Linked DNA regions of Homo sapiens: region 2 is linked to region 1. The links are contacts of gene promoters, found by promoter capture Hi-C in human tissues and cell types (Jung and others, 2019). All regions are on one chromosome and are shown on one strand. The core of a region is centred on a gene start or on the middle of the fragment in contact, and the rest is flanking DNA. Distances in the headings are between cores, read along the strand shown. Region 1 holds the start of BTBD10 (BTB domain containing 10). Region 2 overlaps SPON1 (spondin 1).

Region 1 (6,118 bases), core at 1,431-3,930:
CATTAAAGTTCTGAACCTTAGCCTATGCAGTCAGCTAGCATTTACAAATTATCGTGTAGAGCAGATTTGTGATTATCTAAATCTATGGCATTACCTACCAAATGTATAACTGTTACCAGTGCTACTGTGCTACTACCTTAATATTTGAAAGGTTAATTATCTCTTTTTTTTTTTTTGAAACGGAGTCTCGCTCTGTCGCCCAGGCTGGAGTGCAGTGGCACAAGCTCTGCTCACTGCAAGCTCCGCTTCCCGGATTCACACCATTCTCCTGCCTCAGCCTCCCAAGTAGCTGGGACCACAAGCGCCTGCCACCACCCCCGGGTAATTTTCTGTATTTTTAGTAGAGACGGGGTTTCACCATGTTAGCCAGGATGGTCTGGATCTCCTGACCCCGTGATCTGCCCGCCTCGACCTTTCAAAATGCTGGGATTACAGGCGCGAGCCTCCGAACCCGGCCGATTAATTTTCTTTTAAAGCAAAGAACAGTAGAAACTTTATTCGATTTTCTATTTTCTCCCAACTCCCATTCTCTTTTGTTTTTGAAGAACAGCAGAATGAAATGAGCTCCAGGACCCATCCAAGTAGGATATGATGGTTTGAACAGATTCCAGCATGGAACAAAGTTTCCATATTTTGCCTGAAGTCTTTCATTCATATGATTCTTCTAATGCTTCCTGGAAAATTCCAAGAACTTGATGTGAAATTATGCTTAACAGAACACCCAATTGGCCTATGGCAGGTGCATTAGTCCATTCTTGCACTGCTATAAAACAAAGAGGTTTAACTGGCTCACGGCTCCGCAGGCTGTACAGGAAGTCCGACGGCTTCTGCTGGGCTTCTGGGGAGGCCTCAGGAAGCTTACAATCATGGCAGAAAGCCAAGGTACAGCAGGCACGTCTTATATGGTGGGAGGAGTGGGGCGGGGGTGGGGGGGCGCCACACACTTTTAAAGAACAGATTTCACCAGAACTCACTATCACCAGAATGGCAAAAACAGGGAAATCTGCCCCCATGATCCAACGACCTCCAACACTGGGGATTACAATTCCACATGAGAGGTCAGGTGGGGACATAGATCCAAACCGTATCAGCAGGGTTAGAATAACTTTTTTGTTTTCCTCCTAAGTGTTGGGCTTATTCGTAGGGAGAGTATGGTAAGCCAAATAAAACTATAGTATACATAGTATTTTTCATATAGTATACATATTTTTATATGTAATATGAAAATAATGTGTCCAAAGGAAGGTGAGTGGAAACTACAGCAAAATACCAGAGTCTTTCTTTAGAAAAGGACAGCTTCTATTTTGATGTAAGAGTATGGCTCCTCATTAGCCCTAACTTGGACTACAGAATGACTTCTTCTGAGCAGAGCTTATAGGAGAAAATTTTGATAATAAATCAGGACTGATGACGTTTTTGTTTTTTGCCTGAGAATTTTCTCAGAGTTTCTCTGAGAAACTGTATCACAAAATTCCTATTAGATTGCTCTTATGTAGACAACTTGAAATTATTGGCAATTTCCAATTTAGCAAAATGTTGGCTATAATAACTTAGTGAATTACGACAATAACCCGTTTCTCTTAGGTTTCTGATATTTAAGTGTCCTTACAGGAGAAAGATGAAGTTATCTTATAATTGTCCAGCTCAACTGCTCATCTTCTTAGCATAAACACTGATTTGGAAAATACTTTGCGTATCACACGTAGGAGCCTGGGAATGTTCTCATCCGAACTAAACAGTGGTTAAAGGTTTTTCAACAAAGTTCTTGCTGCAATATCTGTTTTCATACCCAATTACTCAAACCAGGTCCTCTTCCTCTTTGCTTCCTCTCCTTGCAATGCCCTTCCCTCTCTTCCCTAAACTGGAGAACTTACTTATGCTTAAGATTCAGCGCAATTGTCACTCCCAGGTGAAGGCTTTCTCAACAAGGCCTCCCCGTCTGCTCCCAGAGCTCATGGCAAGCAGCTCGGCTTTTATCAGAGAATAATGGGATTATCTATTTTCCTGTAGGTCTTGCCCCGGGGGTGTAAGCTTCGAAGGCGGAGACTGTGTCTTTTACATTTTTTCCCGTTTTTATTGCCCAGCCAGCCCATGTAGGTGACTCTCGGTGTTTCCTAGGCGGCCAAACTGAAGGAGTTTCAGCTGGCACAGGGGTTCCCGCCAACCGAGCGTTTAAAAATAAGCAGCGGGGGACGTTAGGGAACAGAGGGTGTCCCTCACGACGACCGACTCTCATCAGGTCCACGCCGGCAGAAGCGATTTTGCAGTTTGCTTTGATGAGGAAAACGCTCTCCCTGAAGAGTCCCTGCACTATTTCTCCAACTCTGTGACCGAGACGCTGTCCACTTTTCTCTAACGGTGACAGGAAGTCAAGGGGAAAACGTGGGATTCAAAGGTTTGAAGGTAACAGCCCTCAGCCACTCGGGCTCGAGGCCCGCGGTTGACCCGAGCTGATGTCTGTGAGGAGAGGTCGCGCGGCGCCTTCCTCTCCACGCGCCTGAGATCCCACCCGTGGCCGCCGCGCCCTCAACTGCCTTCTCCTTCGGTGCCCCGCCCACCCCTGGGCGGAGAGCACCGTTCTCGCGAGAACGCTGCTGGCCTCGCCTCTTCGCATTGTGAGCTCTCGCGGTAAGAGGCTGAGGAGCCGGCCTGCAACCTGCCGGGGCGGCTCCGCTACGCGCAGCCGCCTCAGTGGCTTCCTCCACAGCCACCTCCGGAGGGATCTGGCTGAGGAGGAAGTGGAGGTGTCACTGGCCCCGGCCTTTGCCCCAATCTTGTGTGGGCACTGAAGGGGGACTACAGGTTCGAGAGTGAGTGGACTCAGCTGGGGAACTCGGCGGGGGCGGCGCGGGAGGCTGGGCTTGGCCGGGGCGAAAGAGGAAAGGGGCGGAGGGCGAATCTGGGCGTGAGAGCCAGGCTGCTGCGGCGGTGGTCTGGGCGGCCGGACCCTGCTCGGGTACCGTGGGTGGCGTTTTGGGCTCCGGCCACGAGCACCCAATTAGGAGAGGCCGGGATAAGACTTGAGTTTTGCGGCTGCTGCTTTTGGGTTGGGAGTCCGGGGGCCTTTCTCCGGGGATGAAGGCGATACCCTCATCCCTTTCCAGGGCAGAGGAACCCCGTGCCCCGCCCCTTTCCTGTCATCTCAGACGAACGCAGCGACATCCTGAGGAAGGCGCATCACAATAGGGGATAAGGTGGTGGGCAGCCTCCCTCTGGGTGAAGAGGAGTGAGACCCCACTAACGTGCTGCGTGGTTTTATGTTGTAACCATTTTACGTGTGGTAAAGCTTTGTTTTCTTAAAACTTGCACGGAAAAGGTTCTGATGTCTTTCTTCTTCAGATGCAGGTGCCCTGACACCCTTATCTTTGGGAATGGGGCGGGGGAAGGTGAGACATCGGTTAGTAATTTGTTAGTGTGGGCCAGTGTGACTGTCCCTGGGCCTCACAGATTTCCTGCTTCTCCTTTCTCAGTATTCTGAGTCCATGATGAAAAGTCACTAGTCCAGACATGCTGAAAGATAGAGCTTCACTTGCTTGTGGCTTTGTGCACTTAGTAAACAAGATTATTTTACGAAGATTTATTATCTTGCAGAGTTTTCATGCTTTTTATTTAAATTAGCAATCTAAATGAAACAGCACAGGATATTAATTGTATTTGGACAACTGAGTTCCTTCCCGCCCCTATCCTCCCAACCCCCCAACTACACAAATTTGATCAAAATCTTTTAGAGAGGGGGTTAGGGATAAATTTTCAATGAAAGAGACTGTGGAAATCGGAATAAGAGATATAATAAAGAATGCAGCCATAACGGCCAAAAGAGTTTCTGTATTAGAGAGCCTGTCCAGGATTGAAGTTCAGTCCTGAAACCCAGGACTGCAGTTGTCATTTGAATATAAAGCGGAAAGCAGTAGAAAATACTTGGGAAGGGATTTGAAAGTGGACCAAGACTGGTAAAAAAAAAAAAAAAAAAAGTGTGAGAAGAATTATTTCTGATGATGTAAATGTGTTTTATAAATTTTCCCAATATTTCTCAGCGTGTATGACCTAACAGCTATTATATTAATACATACAAAGTAGGAAGGAAGTTTCTGAAGCATGGAATGTGGTAAGGAACCACCAGAGAGTAACAGTGTTCAATCAGGAAAGCTTTTAGTGTTTCAACAATGTTTTTGTGTTCGTTCACCTTTTTTCTCACTCCCAGAAAAGCTTTCAGATAGACTTCTAACCCTATGTAATTATGTTACCCTTCCACCAGTCTGAATTTTCTTCTTTCTCACTCCCTCTAAGCCATGTGAATTTTTTAAATTATTAACTATGGAGTTGCAAACCACTGTGGTCTGCTTTTGGCTTTTTATAATAGGTGACTTAGGGAAGTATGGAAGTGATATGGAAAATATTGTGCACCTTTCAAAGCCATAGCATGAGCAACAAACTCACATGCCTTCGGGTACTAGTTAGATAATGAAAATGAGGGAAATGCACTATGCCTTATCAGAGAGACATCCAAGTCTCAGGTCCCCCTAATCAGTGCTATATAAGAATATGGACCCCATCTTCAGCATTCTCAAGAGAACTCGGAAATCTAGATTTTTGCATTCAGTGTCTTGCGTCTTAAAAATATTGACAACTAATTAAAACCATTAAAAATATCATGTGACTGAATCAAATCCAAACCTGTCCATAGTTGTATTCTCCTCTCCAGTTTAGAAGCTCTGTTATAAATCAAAATTAATAAATTTTATGACTGGAAAAAAAGGAGGTTTAAAGCAAGTTTGGAGTTTCAAACTTAAGGGGTCTTGGGAAAAATGTCACATCTAATTGAAAACAGTAGTTAAGTTTAATAGCCTTTAAGTATAGTTATAGTAGGGCAATTTGAACTGGTATTTACTATAAACGTTTTAACTGTGGAAATAACTGAAGAAAAAGCATCTCAGTATTTATGGTTTAAAAACTCAGAGTTCTGAGCAAAGCTGATTTATAGGTATCTTGTACAGAAATTGAATTATTTAGAAGCTCTTTATTGTATTTGCAGCTAATATATAAAATTAAATACAAGAGACCCTCTACAGTCCATTTCAGGATTTGAATGTTTATTGTTTGCTGTGCTATCCCACATTGTCTTCCTAGGCATTGACTTACTGGAAGAAATACTGATCCCTTGGATTTTATTCCATGCCAGATGGAGATTGGAGGGGTTTGGCAACAGGATGGAAAGAACTGGGTGGAGAAAGTGTGATGTGAAGCAAACACTCTTGTGCCCCTTCCTTACATTGTTCATTAAAAGATTGATTTGTGTTAGTTTTTCTTGTAAGAAGGATAGGTATATTAATTGATTAAACTTAGTGCCTTATACATAGTAGAGTTTAATGACGTGTGGAATTGACCTTTGTGGATTAAGCCTCATTTACCCATTAATGTGAAGTAATTTAATCACATAATCTGATTCATACCTAGTTGGGTTATGGGGAATGGGAGTGCTAGAGGTCAAAGCTAAGTAAGAGGTGTTTTTTAGGCATATAGAGGGCAAGTTGGGGGTCTTCACTTGGGATAAGGGTGAGAGAGGAAGTTAGGTAAGGGAGAGAATTTTGAAAAGGAAGATGAAATGATTAAGTACCCATTTGTGTATTGTGCAGTTTTAAAAAGAGGTCTGCCTTTTGTGGCTAAATTTATCATAACTTGTGCAGAGACTACATAGAATACTGGTTTTTAATCAGGACTGCTATGGGAATTTGCAGATTTTCTTTTCTTCATTTTAGCTCAGTCATCTCAGGCCAAGCTAGGCTAATATCTGTTCATTCAATCTCTGCCTCTCTCTGAAATAGGAAATGAAAGAAGAGGAGATATGTATTATGTTTGTGAGGTGCTCCTGTTGAAGAGTTATAAGACTACTTCTGAGGAATTTGTTTTATATTTGAGAAGATTGTGCTTGTTGAAGGGGGAACCATTATTTTCGTCTTTACTTGTTTCTACCATGACTCATAAAGTAGGAAGTTCTTTTTTGGAAATAGCTTTCCGCTTCTTCCCATCCCCTGAGTTGCCATCCCAAAGGAGGATCAGGGGAGGCTAAGGGAAGGGATTGAGTATACTTTTGTTCAGTGCCTTATGATTCAATTTTTGG
Region 2 (6,118 bases), core at 2,446-4,945, 760 kb before region 1:
ATTTTTAGTAGAGAAGGGGTTTCACCATGTTGGGCAGGCTGGTCTCGAACTCCTAACCTCAAGTGATCCACCCGCCTCAGCCTCCCAAAGTGCTGGGATTATAGGCATGAGCCACCATGCTCGGCCCACTTTTCCACTTTTTAATATGCCAGAGCTTTTTAAAAAATGGAGACAACCTTACTTCTGAGAGGCTCTGGCTGTGCTGTAGGATCTGAGAGAGACCCCTCTGTTTCTTGGGTGTAGTTTGTTTGATCTTTGGGAATCAGTAAAGGATGGGTGGGACAGTGATGTGCTGGAGCTGACTTCTGTCTAAGGAATGTTAATTACATGCATCTTTTCCCACCTCTACGTTCAGTGGCATCACATTGGTAGCTGGAAATTGGCCCTGGTGAGAGTATTTACACCATGGAAACTGGCAAACATTATAAATCAGGGCTTAATTTTTTTTCTTTCTGAGAGCCTATTGTTAAATGTTTACTAGCATGTTACTGGTGGTGGGAAAGGAGAGGGCAACCTTAAGCTGGAAGCTGGAGGTATTTTTCCGACCTGATGATGGTATACATACAGATGAGGGAGGATTCAAGTCACTCAATTGGTATCAAGATTTAGGAACATCCAGGTTCATGGGCAGTGGCTATATGTCAGTGCTCCCCAAACTAGCTGTGCTTCAGAATCAGCTAGAGGCTTTCTAAGTCTACTCATGTTCAGATCCCACCTCAGCGCTACTGAATTGGGATCTCTGGGTGGGGCACAGAAATCTATAGTTTTAAATATGTTCTCAAGGTCACTGGTCACTGGAACAGTATATGGAATCTTTGCCGTATGTCTCAAAATATCAAGACAGCTCAAGAAGATGTTAAAGTGCATCCTATGAGGATATGGATTTCCTAATCAGGTCCCCTGTCATGTGACGCCTCTGTCACCTGTCACAACTTGATGAAACCTGGCTTATGTCACAACTTGATGAGACCTGGTTAATGGAGGTAGAGGTGCAGGGACAAAACAAGGAAGAGATTATGAAATGTTATAATGGGAAAAAGCATGGTCTGAAAATTTTTTTTGTACTTACACAAAGCTTTGTCAGAAATACTCTTTGAAATGGGCTTAGGCCATTGTATCACCTGTCATTGAGTTCCCAAATGAGTTCATAGGATGATAAAATATCTCATGGTGCCAACATGACTCCAGTATTCACAGCAGCTGAAAGTGGTCCTAGTCCCAGGAAGAGCTACTTGGGTTGGATAAGACAGTGATCCCAGGGCCAACATCTTCACTGAGGGCTGGGAGTGACCAGAAGGCTGGTAGGTAGCAGAGACCAGGAGGACAGATGCTAGTTAATGGCTGGGCATTAGGAGGCTCACAGGATCACGGTTCTAATGAGAGGTGAGGAGGTGATGAGAATGAGGTGGAGCCTGACCTTTCCTCTTGCCCTGCATCATGTGGGGTGTGGAAGAACAAATGCCCTTCGCTTGTGAAGATGGGGGGAGCAGAGAACCCCCCATTGATAAGAAGGAGATGGAGGGAGAGCTGGGTGTGGGGCTGAGGATGAAGAAGAGATTTGGAGGACATATTAGGGCCACCTAGACATTTCCTATTACCTAAAAACGTCGGATGAGTCACTTAGAGTGGAAATCTGGCTTTCGCCGTGGCAGCTGTCTTGCTTTATATGACTGTGTATCCCATTCATCACACTGTATTATAATGTTTTAAAAATGTGTTTATGTTCTAAGTCCAAATTCCAGGTGTAGTAGAAATAGCCTAGGCCTTGAATTAAGACAGGCCTAGGTTTGAGTTCTGACTCCTTCCCTTTCTAGGCCTTGGACAAGTCATTTTACCTGTCTGAACCTCAGTTTCTTCATGTATAAAATGGGTATAACAACTCTACCTACCTTCTGAATTCTCGAGAAGAATAAAACAGATATTGTCTGAAATCTCCCATTATAATGTCTGAGATACAGCAGGTTCTCAATAAGCCTTGACCCTCTCTCCTTGACTAAGTCATCTTTGTCTCTCCATGATCTATCACCATTCATGGTTTCAGGAGGATGCACAAAATATGTTGGTTGAATAAATGAATGGGCTGGTTGAATGAATGAACGAGTAAGTGAATAAATGAATAAATTAATGAGTAGAAATGTTCAGAACGACATGCTGAGGAAACCAAATGCACTCTGTCATGCCTGAAAGGACTTCCCTTGGAATTCTTTGAGGCATTTAGCTCAGGCTGGGTCCTCTGTCCCATTTCAAGGTCAGGGCCATTCCTTTGTCCTGACCCTGGCATAATAAGCCATGAAAAGCTTGCCACTTTGTTCCTATTTTAATCCTTCTGTTCAGTTAATGGGCTATATTTTTCCTGGAAACAGTGGTGTGACCATCACCAAGATAATGGGTAATAACATTAACATTACCACCAGTATGATCCAGATATTATTCAATTAAACTAATAACTCCTAATGCAGAAGAAATTGTTTTTCTCCTAAGAATCCAATTCAGCCATCAGCTCACCCTCATATTTAAATGACAGAAATTACCTGTAAGTCATAGATCTGTAATGTGATGTTGAAATGGATTTCTAATTATATTTTATGATGCTATATTAGAGATGCTTTTAAGGTCAGAGTTTATAGCTTGTCATGTTTTCATTTTCTATTATCAGGCAATTTGAATTTCTTTTCAAATATATAATGAACAAAAATTAGAAAATTTGGGAGGAAAAACCACTTCAAAGGATTGCCCAAAACAGCCTAACAATGTCACCTTAGTAAGAATTTTTTTAAAAAAGGCTGTGATTATCAGTCAACTTTAACGCTGGTCTTCTGAAGACAGAGATAGGGAAGAAAAATCACCTTCTCACAGTTGAATTCAAGAGTTTTGTTACCTAGGATGTTTACTGAACCATGTCCGGAGTGTGGTCCTATTATTTCCTGGTCCAGATCTTGAATTTGATGGTATGTGCAGAAGGGTTCAACCAGAGGAACTGGCTCACACTACCCAAACTTTCAAGATGTAGAAGACATGCCCAACAGTGAGAAACAGGAATGCCAAGTGGACTTTATGTAAACTTATGGGCGTGGGGCAACACAGCCTCCATATGTAGGAAAGTTTTTTTTTTTTTTTTTTTTGATCCAAGTGCTCACTCTGTTGCCCAGGCTGGAGTGCAGTGGTACAATCTCGGCTCACCGCAACCTCCACCTCTTGGGCTCAAGCAATCCTCCCACCTCAGCCTCCTGAGTAGCTGGGACTTCAGATGCACACCATCACGCCCAGCTAATTTTTGTACTTTTTGTAGAGATGGGGTTTCACCATGTTGCCTGGGTTGGAGGAAAGTCTTCATGATAAGCCATAATCTTAATGGAATATTGCCTGGGAAGCACAGAGTTGAAGCAAAGGTATTTAGCTGAATGGTTTTTATGGACATCATGGAGCTATCTAAGTCAAATGCATTTACCTCCCATTATGGGAATAGATCTGGCTTGCAGATAAACACATCATGTCATCTGGTCATGCTATCTTCTTGGACTGCACAGAAGACCCCGACAAACTCCTGTCTTTCTAGAGGTCATGCAGACCACCCTCTCCTAGTTAGATCTTTCTTCAAGCAGGCTACAATATGACCCAAATAGGTGGCAGTTTTATGACAAACATTCAACTTTAGAGGATTCATACCAGTTGTGATTGGAATTTGGCCATCATCCACTTAAAATCCAGATCTCAGGGTCACTTCTGTATGTGGTTTAACTCATATCATCTGCATCGATTTTTCCCCTCAACTCTTAGAGGGTACCTGCTCTCCTCATTATGGGGGCCTTTCACCATAACCCACTACATACTGTCTACACTTTGATTTAAAGAGAGACTGAAACTAGGATAACTTTTTCCTTATAGTTTGAATTTAATTGTCAAAGTTTTCCAGCAAAGGATGAATTCCCTGCTGCTTTTCAATAAAATTGAATGTGACTGCAGCAGGTAGGAACATTGCAATGAGAAGAAATAGGAAGGCTCCATAAATTAATGTGTGAAAGAAGAAATCTATATTCATTCTGGTTCTTCTAAGTGGGTTAGATGAATGGCTGACAGCATAGGTGGCAGTGGGTGGGGGACAAAGTGGTGAGCAGGATGGCTTTCTACACCCACCTAGCATGAAAAGACATGGAAGGCAGGAATAATAAATTCAAAGAGAGCTCCAGAGCAGGGCCAAATTCTTCCTCAGCTAAGTCCGTGCTCCATTCCCATCTATCCTACTGAGTGCTTTGTTATTTTTCTGCAGCCCAGAGCAGAATTCAGTCCTTCACTGTTCAGAATTCACGAAACAGAAAGGTTATTGTATCCAAATTGTCAACAGACAGAGCTAATTTCAACCTCGCCAGCAACTGGGAAAACAAATTATGACAGAGAAAAGAAATGGATATTTGCAGTTTGCTTTTCTAGGCTGTTCCTAATGTGGGTCTGATCTGCCATGAGACTGTCACACAGCTTTCCTTGTGGCACAGAACTGATCCTATGGATGAATGAAGACATGGCTCAGATAACATTTCATGGGTCTCTAGGCAATCCCGTTGCCTACTTGTCACCATGACTAGAAATATACTGGCTGCTAGGGTATGCCTAACACCTGAATGCTCCAGGAACAAATGTCCCTCTGATTTGGGGCTGACACTTCATTCATTCACCACTCATTTATTAGGTGTCTATTAAGTGTACTGGGTGCTGGGGACACAGAAATCATTAGGATGTTGTTCCTGCCCTCAGGGAGATCATATTTTATCAGGGGGACCAATGGGAACACATAATGGCAAGTCAGGGAGATACTGACTCCAGGTGCTGGAGCTGCATTCAGGAGGAGCTATTCATTCTTTCTGGAGTGGCTGAGTTCTCACCAGGTATTTCATAAACTGCTTGACACAGACAGGATGCAGACCCGCTAGGGGAGGAAGAGAGGACTCGGGAGGGAGAAGGAGGTATGATATTTGGGTTTTCCAGGTCGCCTATCTCCTTGTAAGGAATGGTCACAGATATGACTAAGGTGGGAAAAATCTAGGGCTGTCATCAAACAAAATAGAAGAGGACATATCTATATTTGTTTCAGCACAAATTATTAGCTGTAGTGTAATATGAATATGATAATCATACATTCAATTTCTTGGACACTCAGAACAGTGGTTTGCAAACTTTAGTGTGTATCAGAATCACCAGGAGGGCTTATAAAACAGACGGCTGAGCCCTACCCCCAGGGTTTCTGATTCAGTAGGTGTAGGCTGGGGCCTGATAAAGAATTTGCAGTTCTAACAAGTCCCCAAGGGAGAACCATTGACCTAGACAGTGTCTGCCACATAGTAAGGGTTCAATAAATAGTAGTTACAAATACTATTAGGCACTGTGCTTGGCACTTCACATAAATTAGCTAACTATCCTTATAATAGCAGTATATTACAGGAATTGTTATTATTTTTATTTTATACATGAAAAAATGGAGACTCAGAGATCTCAATATTTTGCCTAAGATCACAGAGCTAATAAGTGGCACAAATTATATTTAAACACAAGTCTTTTTGAGTAAAAAAAAAAAATCCATGTTTTTTCTGACATACTGTCTTCAATAAAAGTGTTTTTTCTTTCTTTTTAATACAGAAGCTACAAGATTCAACAATAAATAAGTGAAGTCTACAGTCATAATACCCTTATTCCATTTCAAATATTTCTGCAAATATATTATTAAAATTATCCCTCAAGAGCCAGTGGAAAGGCCATTTGTTTCTTGAAGATATTTGTAAAAATATATGAGAGAGCAAGAGCTGGCTGTGCACTGAGTTCTAGAAGCCTCCTAAGCTAATAGCTATCAATCTTTTTTTTTCTTTACGTAATAGAACACATTTTGTTAAACAAAAGTATACTCAGAACTCCAATATATAAAGCAGACAGGAATAGGGCTACTTTTAGATCTAAGAAACAAATGTTGGTGCTGGCTGAAACAACCGAACTGTGAGCACTTGCAGGCAGAAACAGAGAGCTCTCCCCACGGAAGCATTAGCTCTGATACAAGCAAGACAACCATCTGATCTGCTTTGGAGTGGGATGAAAAATGGATCACTGAGTTTCTCTGAACCAGGAATAAGGCAGA

The links. Contacts are between HindIII fragments. The study calls those that stand out against the background at their distance.
Region 2: a contact is called between a fragment that was not itself captured here and the fragment with the promoter of BTBD10 in region 1, in 1 of the 25 tissues and cell types used here (lymphoblastoid cells).

Annotation. Positions count from the first base shown.
Region 1 is chr11:13,459,784-13,465,901 of GRCh38, reverse strand. It overlaps BTBD10 (BTB domain containing 10), which reads left to right and starts at 2,680. Exons shown (of 9, transcript NM_032320.7): 1 at 2,680-2,810. RefSeq lists an enhancer at 2,311-2,500. The HindIII fragment of the contact is 2,272 bases long and covers 1,445-3,716 here.
Region 2 is chr11:14,217,091-14,223,208 of GRCh38, reverse strand. All of the region lies in intron 6 of SPON1 (spondin 1), which reads right to left. Among named protein-coding and RNA genes, the nearest start is that of RRAS2, 140 kb to the left of the region's middle. The HindIII fragment of the contact is 4,017 bases long and covers 1,687-5,703 here.